2 separate regions of the Homo sapiens genome follow, and region 1 is linked to region 2. Evidence: promoter capture Hi-C in 16 types of primary human blood cells and fetal thymus (Javierre and others, 2016). All regions are on one chromosome and are shown on one strand. The core of a region is centred on a gene start or on the middle of the fragment in contact, and the rest is flanking DNA. Distances in the headings are between cores, read along the strand shown.

The links. Contacts are between HindIII fragments. The CHiCAGO score rates a contact against its expected background, and 5 or more counts as called.
Region 1: the fragment with the promoter of CCDC110 here is called in contact with the fragment with the promoter of CDKN2AIP in region 2 in 7 of 17 cell types (total B cells, non-activated CD4 T cells, activated CD4 T cells and 4 more); the score reaches 8.8 in total B cells.

Annotation. Positions count from the first base shown.
Region 1 is chr4:185,467,528-185,473,224 of GRCh38, reverse strand. It overlaps CCDC110 (coiled-coil domain containing 110), which reads left to right and starts at 1,492. Exons shown (of 7, transcript NM_152775.4): 1 at 1,492-1,551; 2 at 2,176-2,280. The coding sequence starts at 1,542. LOC105377590 (a long non-coding RNA gene) reads right to left here and starts at 1,794. Exons shown (of 2, transcript NR_133944.1): 1 at 1,465-1,794; 2 at 962-1,110. RefSeq lists a silencer at 1,278-1,907. The HindIII fragment of the contact is 5,122 bases long and covers 1-3,111 here.
Region 2 is chr4:183,440,949-183,447,123 of GRCh38, reverse strand. It overlaps CDKN2AIP (CDKN2A interacting protein), which reads right to left and starts at 2,488. Exons shown (of 3, transcript NM_017632.4): 1 at 2,055-2,488; 2 at 1,459-1,589; 3 at 1-1,036. The coding sequence starts at 2,326. RefSeq lists an enhancer at 2,034-2,183 and a silencer at 2,464-3,013. The HindIII fragment of the contact is 3,011 bases long and covers 754-3,764 here.

The DNA of each region.
Region 1 (5,697 bases), core at 243-2,742, 2.0 Mb before region 2:
TATAATTTATTAAAATTGTCTACAATGCCACAAGAAAGTCAAATCTTCTAGAGCCCATTTTTTTCTTTCTTTCTTTCTTTTTTTTTTTTTTTTTTTTGAGACAGAGTGTCGCTCTGTGGCCCAGGCTGGAGTGCAGTTGCACTATGTCGACTCACTGCAGCCTCTGCCTCCTGGGTTCAAGTGATTCTCCTGCCTCAGCCTCCCGAGTAGCTGGGATTACGAATGTACTCCACCATACCTGGCTAATTTTGGTATTTTTAGTAGAGACAAGGTTTCACCATGTTGGTCAGGCTGGTCTCGGACTCCTGACCTCAGGTGATCCACCCGCCTCGGCCTCCCAAAGTGCTGGGATTACAGGTGTGAGCCATCATGCCGGACCTAGAGCCCATTTCTTTTCTTTTTTTTTTTTTTGTTTGTTTTTTTTTGTTTTTTTGAGACGGAGTCTGGCTCTGTTGCCCAGGCTGGAGCACAGTGGCGCCATCTCGGCTCACTGCAACCTCCGCCTCCTGGGTTCAAGCGATTCTCCTGCCTCAGCCTCCTGAGTAGCTGAGATTACAGGCGCGTGCACTAGAGCCCATTTCTATAAGAAACAAATTAGAGGAAGTAAGCACTGAAACTATCATAAGAAGTTTCATTTCAATGAAAGCAAGCCATCATGTATTACTTATTATATATTATATGTTATTATATAGCAAATTATGATATCCTGGTGATTGTGATTTTGAATTTTAATTTTCTATGTGTGATGGTTTACTACAAAATAAATAATATATACTCGTTTAAAACTTTAAAGAGCACCATTTTCTGATGGGCAGGAGGATTAGCTGGGGGCACGCACCCAGTCCTTGGTTAAAGGAGGTCAGGTTTCCCGTGAACGCAACATCAATCCTGCACGTGATACACCAGGTGCGTAAAAATTAACATGCTTAGACAAAGGAAGCCCACCGTCGCTTCCCACAGCTTTCATGAGCATATTTTAATACATGTTTAGGTTAATTCATTATTGAAAAATAGGAGTCTTCTTTTCATTGCAGCAAACAAAAGTCCTTTCACAATATTGGTCATGGGCCGTTCAAATCCCCAAATGCTGAAACTCCTCTGAGGGATGCGCTGAAATGAGAGGACTAAGAATTAAAAAAAAAAAACAACAGCGATGAAGTGGAGATGTGGAAAGGCAAAGGGAAAGCTCTCAGGCGTGTGTCCGTCCCCGGGCGGTCCCTTTCTCCGCACCGCTTTGGTCCGGCGGGTACCGCAGCGAGTCCGAGTGTGAGCAAGCCCGTCCCGGACAGCCGCGCGCGTGTGCGGGGAGGCGCCCAGGTGGGCTGTCCCAGGCCAGGTTCCCAGGGAAGCTCTCGGGGAAGCGTCCGGAGTGAGGAGGGACCCACCGGGACCCCACCAGGGACCCCAGCCGAGCGCGCGCCGCCGAGGGTGGGGGTGGGGCCGGCGCCCCGGCCACCCGGTTACCTGGCGACAGGATGCCCTGCGCGGGGCGGCGGAGCGGGTGCGTGCGGCGGCGGTTGCGAGAGAGATGAGCCGCGGCGATGAGCCCGGGTAAGAGTTGGACGGGGCGGGGCTCCTAGGGGAGCCGCGGGAACGGAGGGCAGCAGAAGGGCATTCAGCAGGCGGCTCCCCGCTCGAAAACCCGGGACATCCCGGGTCCGCCCTTCTGCACTCGCCGCACATCTCCCGCTCGGCCCTAGGGCTGAGCACCCGCTGCGGCCCCCTGCGTCCGCTGTGGCTTACAGGCTGGCTACGTGGTCTGCCGCCGCCGCCCGCCCAGCGCGCCCTCGGGTGGCCGCTTGCGGAAAGCGCCGCGCCCCGCCCCAGGCCCGGCCTGATGCCGTCCCTCCGCCCCATCCCTCCGCCCCGCCCCAGCCTTCAGCCTTGACCCCGCCCCATTCCTCTGCCCCCACAGGTCCCGCCCAGTCTCTCCGCCCCATCCCATCCCTGCGCCCCGCCCCAGCCTTCAAACCCGCCCCCTCCTAATTCCCTCCGCCCCGCCCTCCCCGCCCTCCCCGCCCCCCCGCCCCAGCCTTCAGCCCCGCCCCCTCCTAATTCCCTCCGCCCCGCCCCAGCCGTTAGCCCTGCCCCGCCCCATCCCTCTGCCCCGCCCCCACCTTCAGCCCCGCCACGCCACGACCCGCGACAGAACAGCCCCGGACGGTTCTGTTACAGAAAAGCAGCACCGGGAAGAGGATGAAGTTGACTCCGTTCTCCTTTCAGCGTCCAAGATCCTAAATTCTTCGGAGGGGGTGAAGGAAAGTGGCTGCAGTGACACAGGTAAAATCGCCAGACCGTAAAAGGCTCCTTTAACTATACACAGGCGGCAGCATCTGGCCTGTGCCACCTGCTCACCTGGCGTGCTTCCCACGGCCGTGATGACACGGACAGCAGCCACCACGGCACTCGCGCTTTGTGCCAGTGCTGTTCTAAGCACGTAATGGATCAACTGTTTAATTCTCACAACACTTTTACGAGGTGGGTGCTACCACGATCCCCATTTTGCAGATAAGGAAACGGGCACAGAGAGGTTAACTCCCTAAGGTCACACAGGCAGCGAGGAATGGAGCGGGCATTCAGCAGGGCGGCTCCGGACTGCCTGTCTTCACCACCACGCTACGCTCCGTTGCTTCTCTGAATGCTAAGTAAGAATTGTTGAGTTTTTTGGACACACACTAAAACGATATGCAGTCAGCCCTCGGTATCTGGGAGTTCCGCATCCTTGGATTCAACCAACCACAGATGGAAAATATTCAGGGGGGAAAATTTTTAAAAATAACAGTACCACAATTTTTAAATGCAAATTTTGAACAGTATAACAGCCATTTACATAGCATTTACATTGTATAAGGTATTACAAGTAATCGAGAGATGATTTAAAGTATACAGCAGGATACACATAGAAGCTATGCAAATACTACCCCATTTTGTATTAGGGACTTGGGCATCTGCAGATTTTGCTATCCGCAGAGGCTCTGGAACCAATCCCCTGTGGATATCCAGGGAGGGGTGTATACCTTTTCTAAAGAAAACTACTTTTTATAGTAAATATTTACGGACTACAGGATATTATATGGGGAGGATGTTTGAAATAGCCACATAGCTAAAGCTTTCAAGCACCACATAAATTATGAATAAGATGGGGGTACCCAGCTAGGGGAATCTGAGGACATTGAAGGTGGAGTCCCAGGCGACTGACTACACGCCTCTCAGAGGAGCCTGCTGTGAGGGGACATGCCGGGGAAGGAGCAGAGCACGGGGCAGGAGAAGGGTCTAGACTGATGTGCCATGCCCGGACCCCCAGTTGCCCCTCTGTAGGATATGGGCAATCCTGATGCCAAAGTGCTGAACCACAAGAGGACTGAGGTTGGGACAGGATTTCTGCACCTCCACCATGCAAGATCTTCACAAAAAGCCTTGTCAGGGCCCGGAAAGAAGAGACTAGAGCAGCCACACCTCAGTAGACAGAAGACACCCGGGTGCCCAGGCACTACCAGGATGAGCAACACCCCAGTGGAGGCCAGCAGGACAGGCACTGGCCAGTCCCCTCTCCGCCCTCCTGCCTCCACCCTTGAGATATGCAGGTTTCCCTGGGCAACCAGGAGGGGCAAAGGGGCCCCCTGAACGAAGGAGAAAGAGTCCTCACAGAGAGTTGAGACATTGAGGTAGCTCCGTATTTACCTCAAAGAGAGCATGTAAGGTCAGAAGAAATAGAAGTACCTTAATTTGGCAAGATCACATGTTTTTTGACATGAATGAGGCTTAGGGTTCTGGAGAAAGATGCCAACATTTATAGAAAATAGTTACATGCAAAATAGCACATGTACATGTTTAAGAGTTACAGTCTTTCTTGCCAGAACACAGTGTTTACAGGTCTGGGGTTGACACAGGACAGGTTCTTAATAAACACCAGTTATCTTGAGTCAGGGGCCACCCAGGAATTTCCTGCCTGCAACTATAGGCAAAACTAGGAGGTATGGCTGGCGCCCTTCTCTCTACTCTCCTACTGATGCTTTCATTGTCACCAAGTGATCCATTCCCCGTGTACTGAGAAAATAATGACCTGATTTGCATAACTACTGCCAGGTTACAAAGAGTTATAGAATGTTCCCAAGGTGTCTCTGATTTCAGAACTAGTGGTTAACCTAATTAACCCTTATTGGAATGGGTTTGTGAGAGACTTTTGAATTTGAGGGTGTCCAGGGTGTTGTTCCCAGCACCCTGTTGTACCCGAGCTTTCATTCATTCATTCGTTTGTGGAGCATATTCTTTTGAGCACCTGCTAAGTTTCAAGTGCTGTTCTAGGTGCTGGGGATCCAACAGTGAACAAGACTTGCAAGATTCCCTGCCCACATGGAGCTTACCTTCTAGTGAGGGAACAGACAGACAAAGGCTATTGTGTGTAAGCGGGGAATAAATTCTATGGAGAACATAAGGCTGAGAAGGGGGGGAGGAATATTTGGAGTGGCAGAGGTGGGTGGGAAGTGTGTCATTTTAAACAGGGTGGTAGGAGAAGGGCTCACTCAGCAGGTCACGTCTGAGCCAAGACCAGAAGGAAGTAAAGAAGCAATCTGTGCAGATTTCTAGGGAAAGAGCACCGCAGGCAGAGAGAATGGCAACTGCAAAGACCCTGTGGTGGGAGCGTGGCTGGTGTGATTGAGGAACGGTTGCTCTTGTAAATGGAGCAGAACAAGTAGGGAAGGGTAGGCGGGAGGAACCAGGACAGGGCTTTGTAGTTCCATGGATGAATTTGGGATTTATTCTGAGAAAATTGAGAAGCACTGGAGAATTTTGAGAAGGCTTCTCTCCCCTCCGTCTTGACTAGAAATTTTGAATTTACCAAATTATCATCATATTGCCTCTGCAGTAATGAGTTAGTGTCTCTTGAGCATTCACTATGTGCCGTACACCTCGTACACCTCAGTAAGGGCTTTATCTACAAACTGGACACTCGCCTAGAGTTATCCCCTCACTGCGAGTGTGTGGCAAAGCTAGAATTCAAATCTGGGCGGCAGGCAACCTGTTGCATAGCTCCTTGCATAATGACTGTGACAAAGCCTCATGCAGAGGGTGCCACACCTCACAAAGCTTTGTAAGACAGGGACATCTAGGAATGAACTTGAATTGTCACAGCAGAACTCAGTATTAGAACCTGCGGCCAGGCATGGTGGCTCACGCCTGTAATCCCAGCATTTTGGGAGACCGAGGCAGGAGGATCACCTGAGGTCAGGAGTTTGAGACCAGCCTGGCCAACATGGTGAAACCCCGTCTCTACTAAAAATACAAAAATTAGCCGGGTGTGCTGGCACATGCCTGTAGTCCCAGCTACTCAGGAAGCTGAGGCAGGAGAATCACTTGAACCCGGGAGGCAGAGGTTGCAATGAGAAGAAACTAAGAATTACAAAGCTTGCAGAGAGCCTGACATCTTATATAGAATCGTTACCCTGTTGCATTTTCAGAATGTATTGGTTCCTCTTGGTCTGTTTGCTACAGGTATGCAGTTGGTACTTTTTGTATACATTGAATACAATATTTTTTGCAGGCTCAGAATAAAAATTACCTCAAAAGTCATCCCATTGATAACTACCTTGTTTTTCACTTTTGACAGAAATATGAAGCAGCTGGAAAATTTAAGTTGAATATGAGATGAGTAATATTCTTACATTCCCAATAAACTCTCATCTTGGTGGGTGGGAC
Region 2 (6,175 bases), core at 1,239-3,738:
ACATCCAGTGTTGCTTTCAGAGCCTCAATAGCTGCATTTAGGAGCTCTCCATGATTCACATTGGGACTAAAGCCACCAACAGCTACCAACTTCCATGCCACCGTTTTATATAGTCTATTGAAAAAAGGTTGCTTCTGTTTCACATCTTCATTGGTTAACTTGCAAGAGAATTTGACAGAACTCTCACTTGACTGTGAAGTACTTTTAGAAGGCAACTGTGAGGTGCTAGTCTGAGAACTACTCTTAGAAGCCAACTGGGACACACTTGCTAAGGAAGTGCTTTTGGAAACCAGAGATCCACTGGTCTGGGAGCTGCTCTTGGAAGCTAGTAGTGATGCAGCTACCTGGGAAGTGCTCTTGGAAGTTAGCAGCGATGTATTTGTTGAAGAGCTGCTCTTGGGAGTCAGTAAGGATGTGCCTGATGAGGAACTGTTTTTAGCAACTGATGATGAAACACTTGCCTCTGAACTAGTTTTGGAAGTTAACCCACTTGAAGCTGTCTCTGAACTAGGTTTGGAAGACAATAGTGGCAATTCTACCTCTGAGCTTCCTGAGGAGCCCAACAAGGGCACCTCGATCTCTGAGCTGCTTTGAGAAGCTGAGGCTGAAGAGCCTTCCAAAGCACTCTTTTTAGGTGATCCACTTTGTTGTCTAGAATCAGTGGATTGGGTCATGTGACTATTCACACTGGATTTCAGCAAGGAAACAAATGATGCAGAACCGTGTTTATCTGGAGCTTCTGCTTCAGAAGCTTTCCCAGATCCTGCCGTTGTTACCTGAGAGGAAACGCTGCTGCTGCTTTGGCTGGAAACAGATCGATCTCCATCACTTGTAGAGCTATTCTGACTGGAGATGCCAGAGCTCCGAGCTGAGTTCCCACTCTCTGATTTGATGGCCGACCCTATACACGTTGAACTGTTTTCCTGCTGAGCTGATGCACGTTCTGTCTTGGCAGAGGTTTTTGCGTGATCTTGCTCAACTGCAGAACTGTTTTTTCCTTCTATAACTCGTTTTTTGGATGGCTCTTCTACCCCTTCTAAAAAGAAGAAAAACATAGATATGTGACTAAGAATACCTCGTACAAAACGGGTGATGAGACAAATACACATTAAAATAAAGGCACAAAGTGAAAACATTTCAAGACTAATCGTTTCTTTAAAAAGTGTGGAGTCATTAATTTCTTAAAACAGTGTTGAATAACATCATGAATGTCTAATATTAAAAAAATAACAGCATCAGACAACAGTGGACACTTCAAAATCTAAAGCAGTCAAAGCAAACTATCAAATTCAAAGCCTAAAGACACAGATATATACTTTAGGTTTAACATTCCAACTTTATTACTTATTAATAACATAAAAATTCTGGCTTGTTAAAAAAATTAGTAACAATAATTCCTAATTATATCAAACTTATGCTCTAAACTCCTATGTATGTTCACATCTATGATCTGCTAACCATTGCTACTCGATATCCCTCTTTTCTTCACCTTGGCAACCAGTTCATCTCTTGTTGTATAGGTTGGAGCATCTGTCACTTTGATGCCTTCAGCCATACTAAGTATTTTATCCATAACTTTTTGAGGGTATCTGAAAAAGAAGGAAAAGTCATTTTTAAAAAGTGTTTTTTCTAAGGTCCTACTTGTGCAAAAAACAGGCCACAGGGACTGCATTTCCTGGCTGCAATCAAGAAAGTGAACCAACCGCCAAGAACTGTTTCCTGGAACCCCATAAACAAGTGCCCCAGGGTCTGGGAGGCAGGGCACCTCCTCACTAATCTTAAATCTCGCACCCGTCCCCAAGAGCGTTGTTCCCTAACACAAGCAACCCTACCAGCAGCTGCGCCCACACCACCGGGCACACAGACGTCCGGGAATCATGTCGGCTCCTCGCAGGGACGCCCTTCTCCCCCTTAGAGGGCAGCCGGGCCGGCGGATTCCCGCGCTTCACAACTTCCCCTCCCCGCCGAGGCCGGTCCCGCGGAGGGCGCCGGGCCCCGGTCTGCAGGTGGCACACAAAACGAGGCGTGCTGGTTAGGGACGCTGCCTCACTCACCGGCACCCGAGGAAGACGTGGTTCGCCCAGGCCATGGAAAAGGAGATGAGCTGCTGCAGCTGCCGGTTTCGGGTCCCGCTCTCGGCGTCGGCAGCTTCATCCGTGCTAGCGGAGGCAGCGCCGCCAGCGGGGGCCAGGTCCCCGGCGTTGCGAAGCAAAAAATCCCGGCGGTGGCGCCAGTGTTTGTCAGTCTCGCCGTCGCAGCGCAGCGCCTCCACCCAGGCTGCCACCCGCGGGTTCTGGCTCAGGTACTCCGACACCTCCTGCGCCATGTTGGGCCTGCAGGCCGCGAACACAGCTGCACCGGGAGACAGGCAGGACTAGCGGGGCGAGCGGCCCTGTCACTGCGGCCTGCACCCGCGGCCCTCCAGATAACGCCCCTCCGCAGGCCTAAAGACCAAACAACAGCGCCCAGAGCCGCCGAACCGCCCACTTCCGCCCACCGCCGGCTTCTTCCCTTTTATAACCTCGCCGCCGCCGCGCGCCCTCGCGTTCTTCCGGCGCGAGCCGGCGCTCCCAAGACGCTTTGCGGCGCCGGGGCCGCTGCGACGCTGCGTCCCCGTGAGGCCACGGAGGGCACCCCGGGGGTGAGGTGGGCGGGCGTCGGGCGTCTCCCGCCCCACGAGGGCGGACTGCAAGTCGAGCTGGCCTGGGACGACCGAGTCTCGGCGGAACCCCGGGCGTTCTGTCCTCGCTTTGTGACGCCGCGCGCTCCTGCCGTCCTCCTCCCCCGCCGGGTCAGCTGCGGCGCCGGGAGCAGAGGCGAGAGGGGCAGGGCCCGGGCAAGGGAGGCAGCCGGGCGCGGCGGCCAAAGTCCGCTAGGGGGGCGTCCCGGGGGACCTTGAGCCGCCCGCAGCCGCGGGGCCTGTGGTCTCCGCCCTGAGACGCCTGTGTGTGAGCGGGGCCAAAACAAACAAAAGCCGGCCTCCATGTTAGAGTGTTGGGAGCTGCGTCTCGCGCTGCTTTCAGTGTGCCCGAGCGAAGCGTTCCGAGGCCGTCGGGGTCTCCGCGCCTTCAGGAGGGCGGGAGTGCCAGTCCCCTTACATAGCAGCAGTAGACAGTAAGGTCACACGAGGACCTGGCTCCGTGTTGCCGTGAGGCTTGCAGCCTTCGAAGCTGGCCCTGGCCCCGCAGCGGTAGGGCTTGTTCCCGCAGTTTATTAGGTCTCTAGTTAATCCAGGCATTGCCTTCCTGTTCTGGTCAGTAGGAAAACAACACCCCGACAACGCTCTGTCTCTAGAATTTCCTAAAATCAACAGCTTTACCACCAACCGGCAGATGTCCGGAGGTGGAGTGGAAATGTACCTATTTATCTATAGGGCCCCAAACCTCTCTCCCTGTTAGAGCTGTTTTTTCCTTCTATATATTTTTTTCCACTTTACATTTCCCACAGTTACGTACTCTAACTGCTGGCTGGCTTATTGTTACGTTTCCCATTCCAGGTATACATGCACTGTAAGATAAATACGTTAAATGATATAAATTATGAAATTTTTCTTTCAATAAATGTAGACTTTGATGTAAAAATGCATGAATCAGAATAAGCAAGCAAAAAAAGGTCACTTTAGGTAAGATCAGATAAGGTTAACTGTGTAATTTATGTGCATGCTGGAACAAAATACAGCTATTGTATGAAAACAATATTGCCCATTTTCCTGCCATACCAAAAGAAACTACATAAAAACGGAGGCACAAAGAAATTTTGAAGCTTTGTGATTTTGCTTCTAGTTTGCTGTTCTTTCCTCCTTTTCACAGATAATTGCTGAAAATCTAGAGGGGGTGGACGGATTGCAGAAATCTGGCTATTTAAAAGGTGGAGAAATTACGATTTCTCCTTTCATGAATTCTTTGGCAAGGGGACCATGGCAAGTAAAAGAAGCTATGATCGCATACCTAGATTATATATGTGCATTTTAAATCAAGAATGTTCTCACGGCCAGGTGCAGTGGCTCACGCCTGTAATCCCAGCACCTTGGGAGGCCGAGGCGGACGAATCATGAGGTCAGGAGTTCGAGACCAGCCTGGCCAATGTAGTGAAACCCCATCTCTACTAAAAATACAAAAGTTAGCCAAGTGTGGTGGCACGTGCCTGTAGTCCCAGCTACTCTGTAGGCCGAGGCGGGAGAATCGCTTGAACTCAGGAGGCAGAGGTTGCAGTGAGCCGAGACCAAGCCATTGCACTCCAGCCTGGGTGACAGAGTGAGACTTCATCTCAAAAAATAATAATAATAATGTTCTCACTTTTTTTCTTGTTGCCCTGTAGTCTTCTTCCCACTCATGGGCTTCATTGCCTTGAAAGGAGAACAAGTAGAGCCTGAATTTCAAACAATTTTTTTAATTATAATAAAAGCGATAGAGTCTGAAAGATGGAGTACTTGTGCAAAAACCAGGTGCTTGGAATAAAAGATACATGCATTTTTCTTTTTTGATTCTTAAAAAGTTGACTTTGCATATAAAGATTCAAAGACTATGAACCACAAGTAGCTGGGACTGCAGGCGGGTACCACGACGACAGGCTAATTTTTTATTTTTTTGTAGAAACAAGGTTTCACTGTTGTCCAGGCTGGTTTTGAACTCCTAATATCAAGCAATTCTTCTGCCTCGGCCTCTCAAAGTGCTGGGATTATAGGCATGAGTCGCTGTGCCCGGCCTCATTTTTTTTTAAAGACCCTCCCACCTACAGAGACAAATTCCTCTCTAAGCTGGGGGAGACGTTCTGAGAGAAAAGGTGAGAGGAGAATTTAGGTGATAACTAGGAAAGTCTATGGGAGTAGGGAATAAGATGCAGGGTGGGAAGTGTTGGCTGTTAGAAATTGCTAGGTAGATTTTGGGTCTAAGAGCAGAAGGACTTGGCTCTGCCCGAGTTTCTGAGAGAAGACAGCCCAATCGTGCCCTGAGCCTGTATGCGTTGGCCTTTAGAAATGAACATAGAAAGGGCCTTTTATAGCTTTGATAACCAACTATACAACTCCCTCCTCTGCTCCTAACACACGTGTGTATATATATATACATATGTGTGTGTGTATATATACATAACACACACACACGCATTTACGCACATATATCTCACAGGGCCTAGAGGAGATCCAAAAGGTTCCCAAGAAAGAGTTGAATGGTGAAGTGCCTACCAAGCACCAGGGTCCAAGGTGAATGAGGCTAGGGGTGGTCAGCTTGTCAGCAAAGGGAGATGCAGCTAGTTTTCAGCAAGTCATCAGACCAGTGCCCGTCAGGCCGCATCAATAGGAGAGGACCCTCAACCTCTCCTGAAATGATCAGTGTGCATTGCTTGTGCTGGTAGATCAAGCAGTTATACTCCCAGCAGAGCCCACAGGGAAGAAAGCACAAGACAATGCTAGGATGATAACCAAGCCTCACCCCACCACTGCCCTCACTAGAAATCTACTCAGAGGAGAAAAGGGAGAGAATTCTAATGAATTGAGAAAGATCCACTATCATCCCAAATTGAGTTTCAAACAAGTGACTGAGTTCACAGGATTAAATTTTCTGCTGTAAGTGGAAGCCCATTCACTGAAACTGGTTCTGTAGCATATCTCTCTGAAGACATCCAATAAAAATTCCAGCGGCAAGCTGGCTTTTCTGCAGATGGCTTTCCCATGGAGCAACATGAAGGGATTGCCCCTGTTCCTGGATGTGACTGTGGAAGCAAGAAAGCCTTTGGCAGGAAGGTCTGCATGTGGAGAGGCTTGTGAGGAGCAAATACTCCAGTTATGGCCAAGGTTATGACTTGATGTGAGAAATACTTCATGGTGAGGGGAAATATTTTATGCTAATGATGTGTGAGGACACAAATCTGCCAAATTACAGTGATAAGGTGGGATGTTCTGAAAAAGTAAGAGAATGTTTTAAGAGTGATCCCCTCTGTTAGAAGCTTTGAGAAATCAAGTAGGATGAAGATAGGTAGTAACAGTCTGATTACGGACTGGAGCCACCTGTGAGCTTGGCAAAAGCCGTTTTTACTGCAGTGATGAAGACTCCATATCAGAGTGAGTTCAGGAGTCGGAAATGGAGATATTTGGCTGTAAAGGGGAGAAGATAGAGGAAGCTGGACAGGGTCATGGGGTCAAGGTGGCTTCAATTTCAGATGGGAGTAGCCTGAGCAT